Linked DNA regions of Homo sapiens: region 2 is linked to region 1. The links are contacts of gene promoters, found by promoter capture Hi-C in human tissues and cell types (Jung and others, 2019). All regions are on one chromosome and are shown on one strand. Each heading gives the region's core, a stretch centred on a gene start or on the middle of the fragment in contact. The rest is flanking DNA. Distances are from core to core; before and after follow the strand shown. Region 1 holds the start of PPP1R15B (protein phosphatase 1 regulatory subunit 15B). Region 2 overlaps ZBED6 (zinc finger BED-type containing 6).

Region 1 (3,749 bases), core at 395-2,894:
ACTCACAAGAGATAATCAAATACAGCAATTAAAATTACCAGCCATTTTTTTTTTCAAAGGATAGTGGTCCATGTTTCCTTTTTGGCTGTTGTATTCTGTGGTTCTGGTTGCTAAGGAAGTATTAATAAATATGAATTGAATATGTTGCCTGCTTGGAAGCATAAAAGAGAGTAAATAGTTCTGGGGACTGAGCTGCTTCTCTGTGAGTTTAGTTTGCCCCACACCAGACATGTATGTACGCAGCACTGCCCAACTTTTACATAAGATCTCAGGTTGATGGTCTACATAGTACTGAACAATAGGAGAACCCTGAAATATCTGTCAGGCTGGGCGCAGTGGCTCACGCCTGTAACCCCAGCACTTTAGGAGGCCGAGGCGGGCAGATCACTTGAGCTGAGTTTGAAACCAACCTGGGCAACACGACGAAACCCTGTCTCTATAAAAATATGCAAAAATTGGCCGAGCACGGTGGCTCACGCCTGTAATCCCAGCACTTTGGGAGGCTGAGGCGGGCGGATCACAAGGTCAGGAGATCGAGACCATCCTAGCCAACATGGTGAAACCCTGTCTCTACTAAAAATACAAAAAATTAACTGGGCGTGGTGGCACACGCCTGTAGTACCAGCTACTAGGGAGGCTGGGGCAGGAGAATCGCTTGAACCCGGGAGGCGGAGGTTGCAGTGAGCCGAGATTGCGCCACTGCACTCCAGCCTGGCGACAGAGTGGGAATCCGTCTCAAAAAAAAAAAAAATTTAGCTGGGCGTGGTGGTGCGAGCCTGTAGTCCCAGCTCCTCGGGAGGCTGAGGTGGGAGGCTCACTGGAGCCCAGGAGGTTGAGGCTGCAGTGAGCCGAGATCGCACTACTGCACTCCAGCCTGGGCGACAGAGCTAGACCCTGTCTCAAATAAATAAATAATAAAAATCTAAGACTACGATAACCCTACAGTTGGCCCGCGGGGCATTCAACCTTCCATGGATTGAAAATATTCGGGAAAAATAAAGATAATAAAACATAATACAAATAAATACAGTATAACAACTAGTTCCATAGCACTTGCATTGTATTAGGTATTATACTTAATCTAGGGGATGGTTTAAATATCTGGGAAGGTGTATGCAGGTTATATGCAAACACTATACCATTTTACATAAGGGACTTGACCGTCTGCGGATTCTGGTGTCTACGGGGTCCTGGAACTAATCCCCATTTCATGAGAGGGGATGACTGTACACACGTCAGTGTGTATTAGGCCATCAAAACGCCTCCGGGAAATTCTCGGGTTATTTTGAAAACCCCTCCCCTCCCCAAGACCTTTAACCTAGAGGGCTGTTGGGGCGGTCTCCTAGGAGACCACACAGAAACGACTGCGCATGCGTGCATTCCCCCCCCCCCCCCCCCCCCCCCCCCCGCCCCGGCTGATGCAACCTCACGCTGCCGTGCGGCTCTACCTCGAGTAAGGAAGCCGACAGGGAAATCTGGCAAAACCAATCGGCGGCCACACGGAAGTGGGCGGAAAGGCCCGCCCCCCGGGGATTTTGCGAGTGACGTTGGGCGGCGCGGCGCTAGGGACGTAGACGCCCAACAGTCCTGCGTCTCTTCCGGCGTCTAGGGGGGTGTCCTGCCGGCGCGCGGGCCCTGCGGCCATTTTGGGCTTCGCTTCCACCGCACCAGCCGGCCTACCCAGTCCTTCCGGTATCGCGTTGCTCAGGGGCTTTTCAACCCTCTGTCAGTCGGAAAACCATCGCCGAGGCCGTGGGGGGACTCCTATCCATGGTGTTGAAGCGTCGAGCCGACTAGGGAACCTCCTTCCCCGCCAGGATGGAAGTCGCATCAGTCGCCGCCTATTGCGCGGGCTGTTCTTCCCTGTGTTCTGCCGCCCGCTGCCGCATTCGCTGCCCTCTGTGGCTTTTCTGCTGGCTCGAAGATCGGCCTGGAGCAGCGACGCCACCGCTGGGCAAGGCCGAGACTCTGTAGGCTTCCTCCGAATCCCGTCGACCTCCAGCCGCTGAGCGCCGCGGCCCTACCTGAGAGACTGTCAAGAAAAAGGAGATGGAGCCGGGGACAGGCGGATCGCGGAAACGGCTTGGCCCTCGGGCGGGCTTCCGGTTCTGGCCACCCTTTTTCCCTCGGCGATCGCAAGCAGGCTCTTCTAAGTTCCCGACGCCTCTTGGCCCGGAAAACTCCGGGAACCCCACACTGCTTTCCTCTGCCCAGCCCGAGACTCGGGTCAGTTACTGGACGAAACTGCTCTCCCAGCTCCTTGCGCCGCTCCCCGGATTGCTTCAGAAGGTGCTAATTTGGAGCCAACTTTTCGGTGGAATGTTTCCGACCAGATGGCTAGATTTTGCTGGAGTCTACAGCGCCCTGAGAGCCCTGAAGGGACGGGAGAAACCAGCCGCCCCCACAGCGCAGAAATCTTTGAGTTCGCTGCAGCTCGACTCCTCAGACCCCTCGGTCACCAGTCCCCTTGATTGGCTAGAGGAGGGGATCCACTGGCAATACTCGCCCCCAGACCTAAAATTGGAGCTTAAGGCCAAGGGAAGTGCTTTGGACCCTGCAGCACAGGCTTTTCTCTTAGAGCAGCAGCTGTGGGGAGTGGAGCTGTTGCCCAGTAGCCTTCAATCCCGTCTGTACTCTAACCGGGAACTTGGCTCTTCGCCCTCTGGGCCTCTAAACATTCAACGCATAGACAATTTCAGTGTGGTATCCTATTTGCTGAACCCTTCCTACCTGGACTGCTTTCCTAGGCTAGAAGTCAGCTATCAGAACAGTGATGGAAATAGCGAGGTAGTCGGCTTCCAGACACTAACCCCAGAGAGCAGCTGCCTGAGAGAGGACCATTGTCATCCCCAGCCGCTGAGTGCAGAACTCATTCCGGCCTCGTGGCAGGGATGTCCACCTCTTTCTACGGAAGGCCTACCAGAAATTCACCATCTTCGCATGAAACGGCTGGAATTCCTTCAACAGGCTAGCAAGGGGCAAGATTTACCCACCCCTGACCAGGATAATGGCTACCACAGCCTGGAGGAGGAACACAGCCTTCTCCGGATGGATCCAAAACACTGCAGAGATAACCCAACACAGTTTGTTCCTGCTGCTGGAGACATTCCTGGAAACACCCAGGAATCCACTGAAGAAAAAATAGAATTATTAACTACAGAGGTTCCACTTGCTTTGGAAGAAGAGAGCCCTTCTGAGGGCTGTCCATCTAGTGAGATACCTATGGAAAAGGAGCCTGGAGAGGGCCGAATAAGTGTAGTTGATTACTCATACCTAGAAGGTGACCTTCCCATTTCTGCCAGACCAGCTTGTAGTAACAAACTGATAGATTATATTTTGGGAGGTGCATCCAGTGACCTGGAAACAAGTTCTGATCCAGAAGGTGAGGATTGGGATGAGGAAGCTGAGGATGATGGTTTTGATAGTGATAGCTCACTGTCAGACTCAGACCTTGAACAAGACCCTGAAGGGCTTCACCTTTGGAACTCTTTCTGCAGTGTAGATCCTTATAATCCCCAGAACTTTACAGCAACAATTCAGACTGCTGCCAGAATTGTTCCTGAAGAGCCTTCTGATTCAGAGAAGGATTTGTCTGGCAAGTCTGATCTAGAGAATTCCTCCCAGTCTGGAAGCCTTCCTGAGACCCCTGAGCATAGTTCTGGGGAGGAAGATGACTGGGAATCTAGTGCAGATGAAGCAGAGAGTCTCAAACTGTGGAACTCATTCTGTAATTCTGATGACCCCTACAA
Region 2 (3,749 bases), core at 530-3,029, 560 kb after region 1:
TACACAAAGCTTTTTAAATAGCAATTTTAAATTCTGAGAAAAGAATTCATCTCGTTTTGCCTCTGTATAAAAATATCAGAAATATTACTATCTACCTGTGGATAGAAGGCAAATGAAATTCAACCCAATTGTTGCCAGGAAGTTACTGGCAACAATTGGGTTGAATTTGGTAATTTTGATAACCTAAAGCAATACACAGTATAGAAATACTTGCCTTTACCCCTTTTTTCCAAGGTCTGTGCTGCACATTTCACATTCAATAATGAGTCTCCAATCCCTGAGGTTTCTACCTCCACCTTCTGGGATGACTTTGTGGGAAGCCGCTTGGTCAGGTGCCGTGTGATTCCTGGCACAGCAGTGAGCACTGGTTTCTCTGCCACTTGGGTATTGCAAGAGGCTACATCTCCCCGAAGAGGTGTCAAGACTGATTTTTCCCTCTCCTGCTGTTTCTGCATGTGCTTCTCTCTCATGGTCTCACATCTCTTGACTTGAATTTTAGTGATGTCAACTCCTGTGGTCTCACCTGAAGCCTGTGGATAAATTTGAATGACAGAATTAAAATCTGGTACCTCTAATAACCTGTATGATGTAAGTACCAGGCTAACATCTAAGTTAAGCAGAATCTCACATGATCCAGAATCTGAGAGAAAAGCTCTTTATTTGATGTTAAATAGACAATACCCTGTTAAAGATGAAAGATTAGAATTACAGATGTATGGAATAATAAAAAACCCAGATTCCACAGGCTAGACAACCATGACTCTAAGTCAAATACTAATGATTCCTAAATAATCAAATACCTGCACAAAGATTTATGTACAAATATATTACTTTAAATTGTGTAAAACAAAATCTGAATGTCCAGAAAAAGACTGTATTTGTATAATGGAGAATCATGTGGTCAGTAAAAACAAACTTCTTGAAGAATTATTAACATGGTAAAGTTAAAGCAGGCTGTAAAATGATACACTGTAGAGTTCTCCATTATGTTCTAAACATGGGTTTAACATTAAACAAATTCACATGCATGCATATATAAACAAAAAGGTCGAAGAAGGCCAAGTGTGGTGGCTCACACATGTAATCCCAACACGTTGGGAGGCCAAGGCAGGCAGATCACTTGAAGCCAGAAGTTCGAGACCACTCTGGACAACATGGAGAAACTCTGTCTCTACTAAAAATACAAAAATTAGTCAGGCTTGGTGGTGCATGCCTTTGATCCCAGCTACATGGGAGGCTGAGGCACAAGAATCGCTTGAACCCAGGAGGCAAAGGTTGCAGTGAACCGAGATCATGCCACTGCACTCCAGCCTGGGCAACAGAGCAAGACTGAAAAAGCTCGAAGAAATCCATGGAAAAGATAATGATGGTTACATCTGAGCTGTATATTTTTAGGGTTTGTTCAGTTTTAAAAAAAATAAAATTTCCAACTTTTGTATGATGCATAGCATTAGAAAAAACTCAGTTAAAAAAAAGTAATGGCCAATTAAACAAAAAACTTTATTTTTTGTATTTTTAGTAGAGACGGGGTTTCACCGTGTTAGCCAGGACGGTCTCAATCTCCTGACCTCGTGATCCGCCCGCCTCAGCCTCCCAAAGTGCTGGGATTACAGGCGTGAGCCACCGCGCCCGGCAAACAAAAAACTTTAAAAGGGCAGCGAATACTGATATACATAGAACTACAGGAAATTCTCATAAGAAATTATAAGTAAAAAGAAAGACTGTTTACCTAATATATGAATGAAGTACTTAGAAATTTATTGTAAGGTAAAACTACCAATTATCTAGCCTTTGTTTGCCATGAACAAAACCATACAATAATCTTAAATTTACCTCTTTAGCTTCTGTTCTAATACTGCTCTGAGAATCAACTTCATTTCCTTCCTGAAGGTTCTTCTCTTCTTTCATCCCTGTATTCACATTAAAGACATCATTAGTTATTTTATTTAAGCTGCAACTTCATGATAGATATGTTAAACAAAACTTTATTTAATGAAAGTAGTAAGACAGGACAAATAAAATTACAGATAAAGCCCATCTGTGCTCCTAAAGTCTCAAAATACACATTAAAATAGCAAAGGTTGGCCGGGCATGGTGGCTCACACCTGTAACCCCAGCACTTTGGGAGACTGAAGCAAGCAGATCACACTTGAGGTGAGGAGTTTGAGACCAGCCTGGCCAACATGCTGAAACCCCATCTCTATTAAAAATACAAAAATTAGCGGGGTGTGGTGGCACATGTCTGTAGCCCCAGCTACTTGGGAGGCTGAGGCAGGAGAATCACTTGAACCTAGGAGGTGGAGGCTACAGTGAGCCAAGGTCATGCCACTGCACTGCAGCCTGGGTGACAGAGTGAGACTCTGTCTCAAAAATAAAATAAAACAAAATAGCATAGGTCTACATAGCACTACTGAAAAACTTCATTTAATTCAGTGTTTTCAACGTTATCTGAGTAAAGAAAGGTTGTCAAACAACTCCTAGGAAGATCCCACGGAACACTCCTCTGGAATATTATGTGGGGACGTGGTACTAGAGACCAAGTTCTCTTGTTACCTGTTCTTTTGGTGATTCGCAGCAGCCGCCTTGCCCCTGGAGTGGCCTCGTGTTGAGACGGGGAGCTGGTGCTGCTCTCAGAGCTCTGCTGCACCCTCAGTGCCTTCTCCAGTTTAATTTCTTCCAGCGTCTTGATGTGCACCTCCTGCATAGACTTTGTTTTACCTGCAGGCTCCTCTGATTGTCCTCTGCTGGCAACAATGGGTGGCAAAACTACTGTTTTTTTAATTTCACTATCAATCTTTAGCTTGATGCAAGTTGTATCCTTTTTGCTTTTTTGTCTCTCTGCTTCCTGCTGCCGATGTTTTTTTTCAGCCAGGACCTCAGAGAAGGTTTTGATACGGATAGTGGAGGAGCTTCTTGCTCCTGAAGTAGAATCATCAGTTTTTGAAGGTCCTTCTGTCTTGAGTTTAGTTTGCAATTCTCCACGTTTCTGACTGGCTCTTTCAAGAAGAATTTCTTCTAATGTCTTCACATGGATCTCACCAACTTTATTAACTTTATCTGTTTTCACAGGAGAAAAACATGTCATTATACTTGAAGTTCATCTCTTACTGACTTATGATCTCTCTATTCTTGGATCAAGACAGTCCAACAGAGAGCTATCATTTAAGCAGGCAATTAAAAGGATCAAAAGGGTAACATTTATTTCTTTTCCTTTTTTTCTTTTTCTTTTTTTTTTTAAGACAGAGTCTCACTCTGTTACCCAGGCTGGAGTGCAGTGGTATAATCTCAGCTCACTGCAACCTCTGCCTCCCAGGGTTCAAGTGATTCTCCTGCCTCAGCCTCCCAAGTAGCTGGGACTACAGGTACCCACCACCAAGCCCGGCTAATTGTTTCTATTTCAATTTTAGATTACTGCAAGTTCCAGGCAGTGGTCCTCAAGGAAAACTCTTTGGAGGCAAAAATTGATTTGTATTTCTATTCAGAAGCTTATTCTTCAGAAACTGAAAGCCATTTACTAGTTGGATAAATTTGTCATTATAAATCTTAACAAAAATAGCAATAAATTCTTCATTAACTTATGGCTATAAACATGTAATGAACACTGGGCTAGAAATACAATGGTAAGCAAAATAAAATCTCTGTCCACATGTAATTTACAGTCTAACAGATCAATAATTAAACTAGCTATAGCAGAGTATGGTAATGATAACTGCTTTGATAAGGTAGGTATAATGCTATAAAAGGACACA

Evidence for each region. Contacts are between HindIII fragments. The study calls those that stand out against the background at their distance.
Region 2: a fragment that was not itself captured here is called in contact with the fragment with the promoter of PPP1R15B in region 1 in 1 of the 25 tissues and cell types used here (heart left ventricle).

Annotation. Positions count from the first base shown.
Region 1 is chr1:204,409,712-204,413,460 of GRCh38, reverse strand. It overlaps PPP1R15B (protein phosphatase 1 regulatory subunit 15B), which reads left to right and starts at 1,644. Exons shown (of 2, transcript NM_032833.5): 1 at 1,644-3,749. The coding sequence starts at 2,050. RefSeq lists enhancers at 1,357-1,406, 1,417-2,116, 2,377-2,526, 1,833-2,667 and a silencer at 1,452-1,898. The HindIII fragment of the contact is 8,124 bases long and covers 1-3,749 here.
Region 2 is chr1:203,846,492-203,850,240 of GRCh38, reverse strand. ZBED6 (zinc finger BED-type containing 6) reads right to left here. Exons shown (of 17, transcript NM_001395895.1): 12 at 2,554-3,057; 13 at 1,834-1,910; 14 at 215-530. ZC3H11A (zinc finger CCCH-type containing 11A) reads right to left here. Exons shown (of 18, transcript NM_001376342.1): 13 at 2,554-3,057; 14 at 1,834-1,910; 15 at 215-530. Among named protein-coding and RNA genes, the nearest start is that of SNRPE, 13 kb to the left of the region's middle. The HindIII fragment of the contact is 5,303 bases long and covers 1-3,749 here.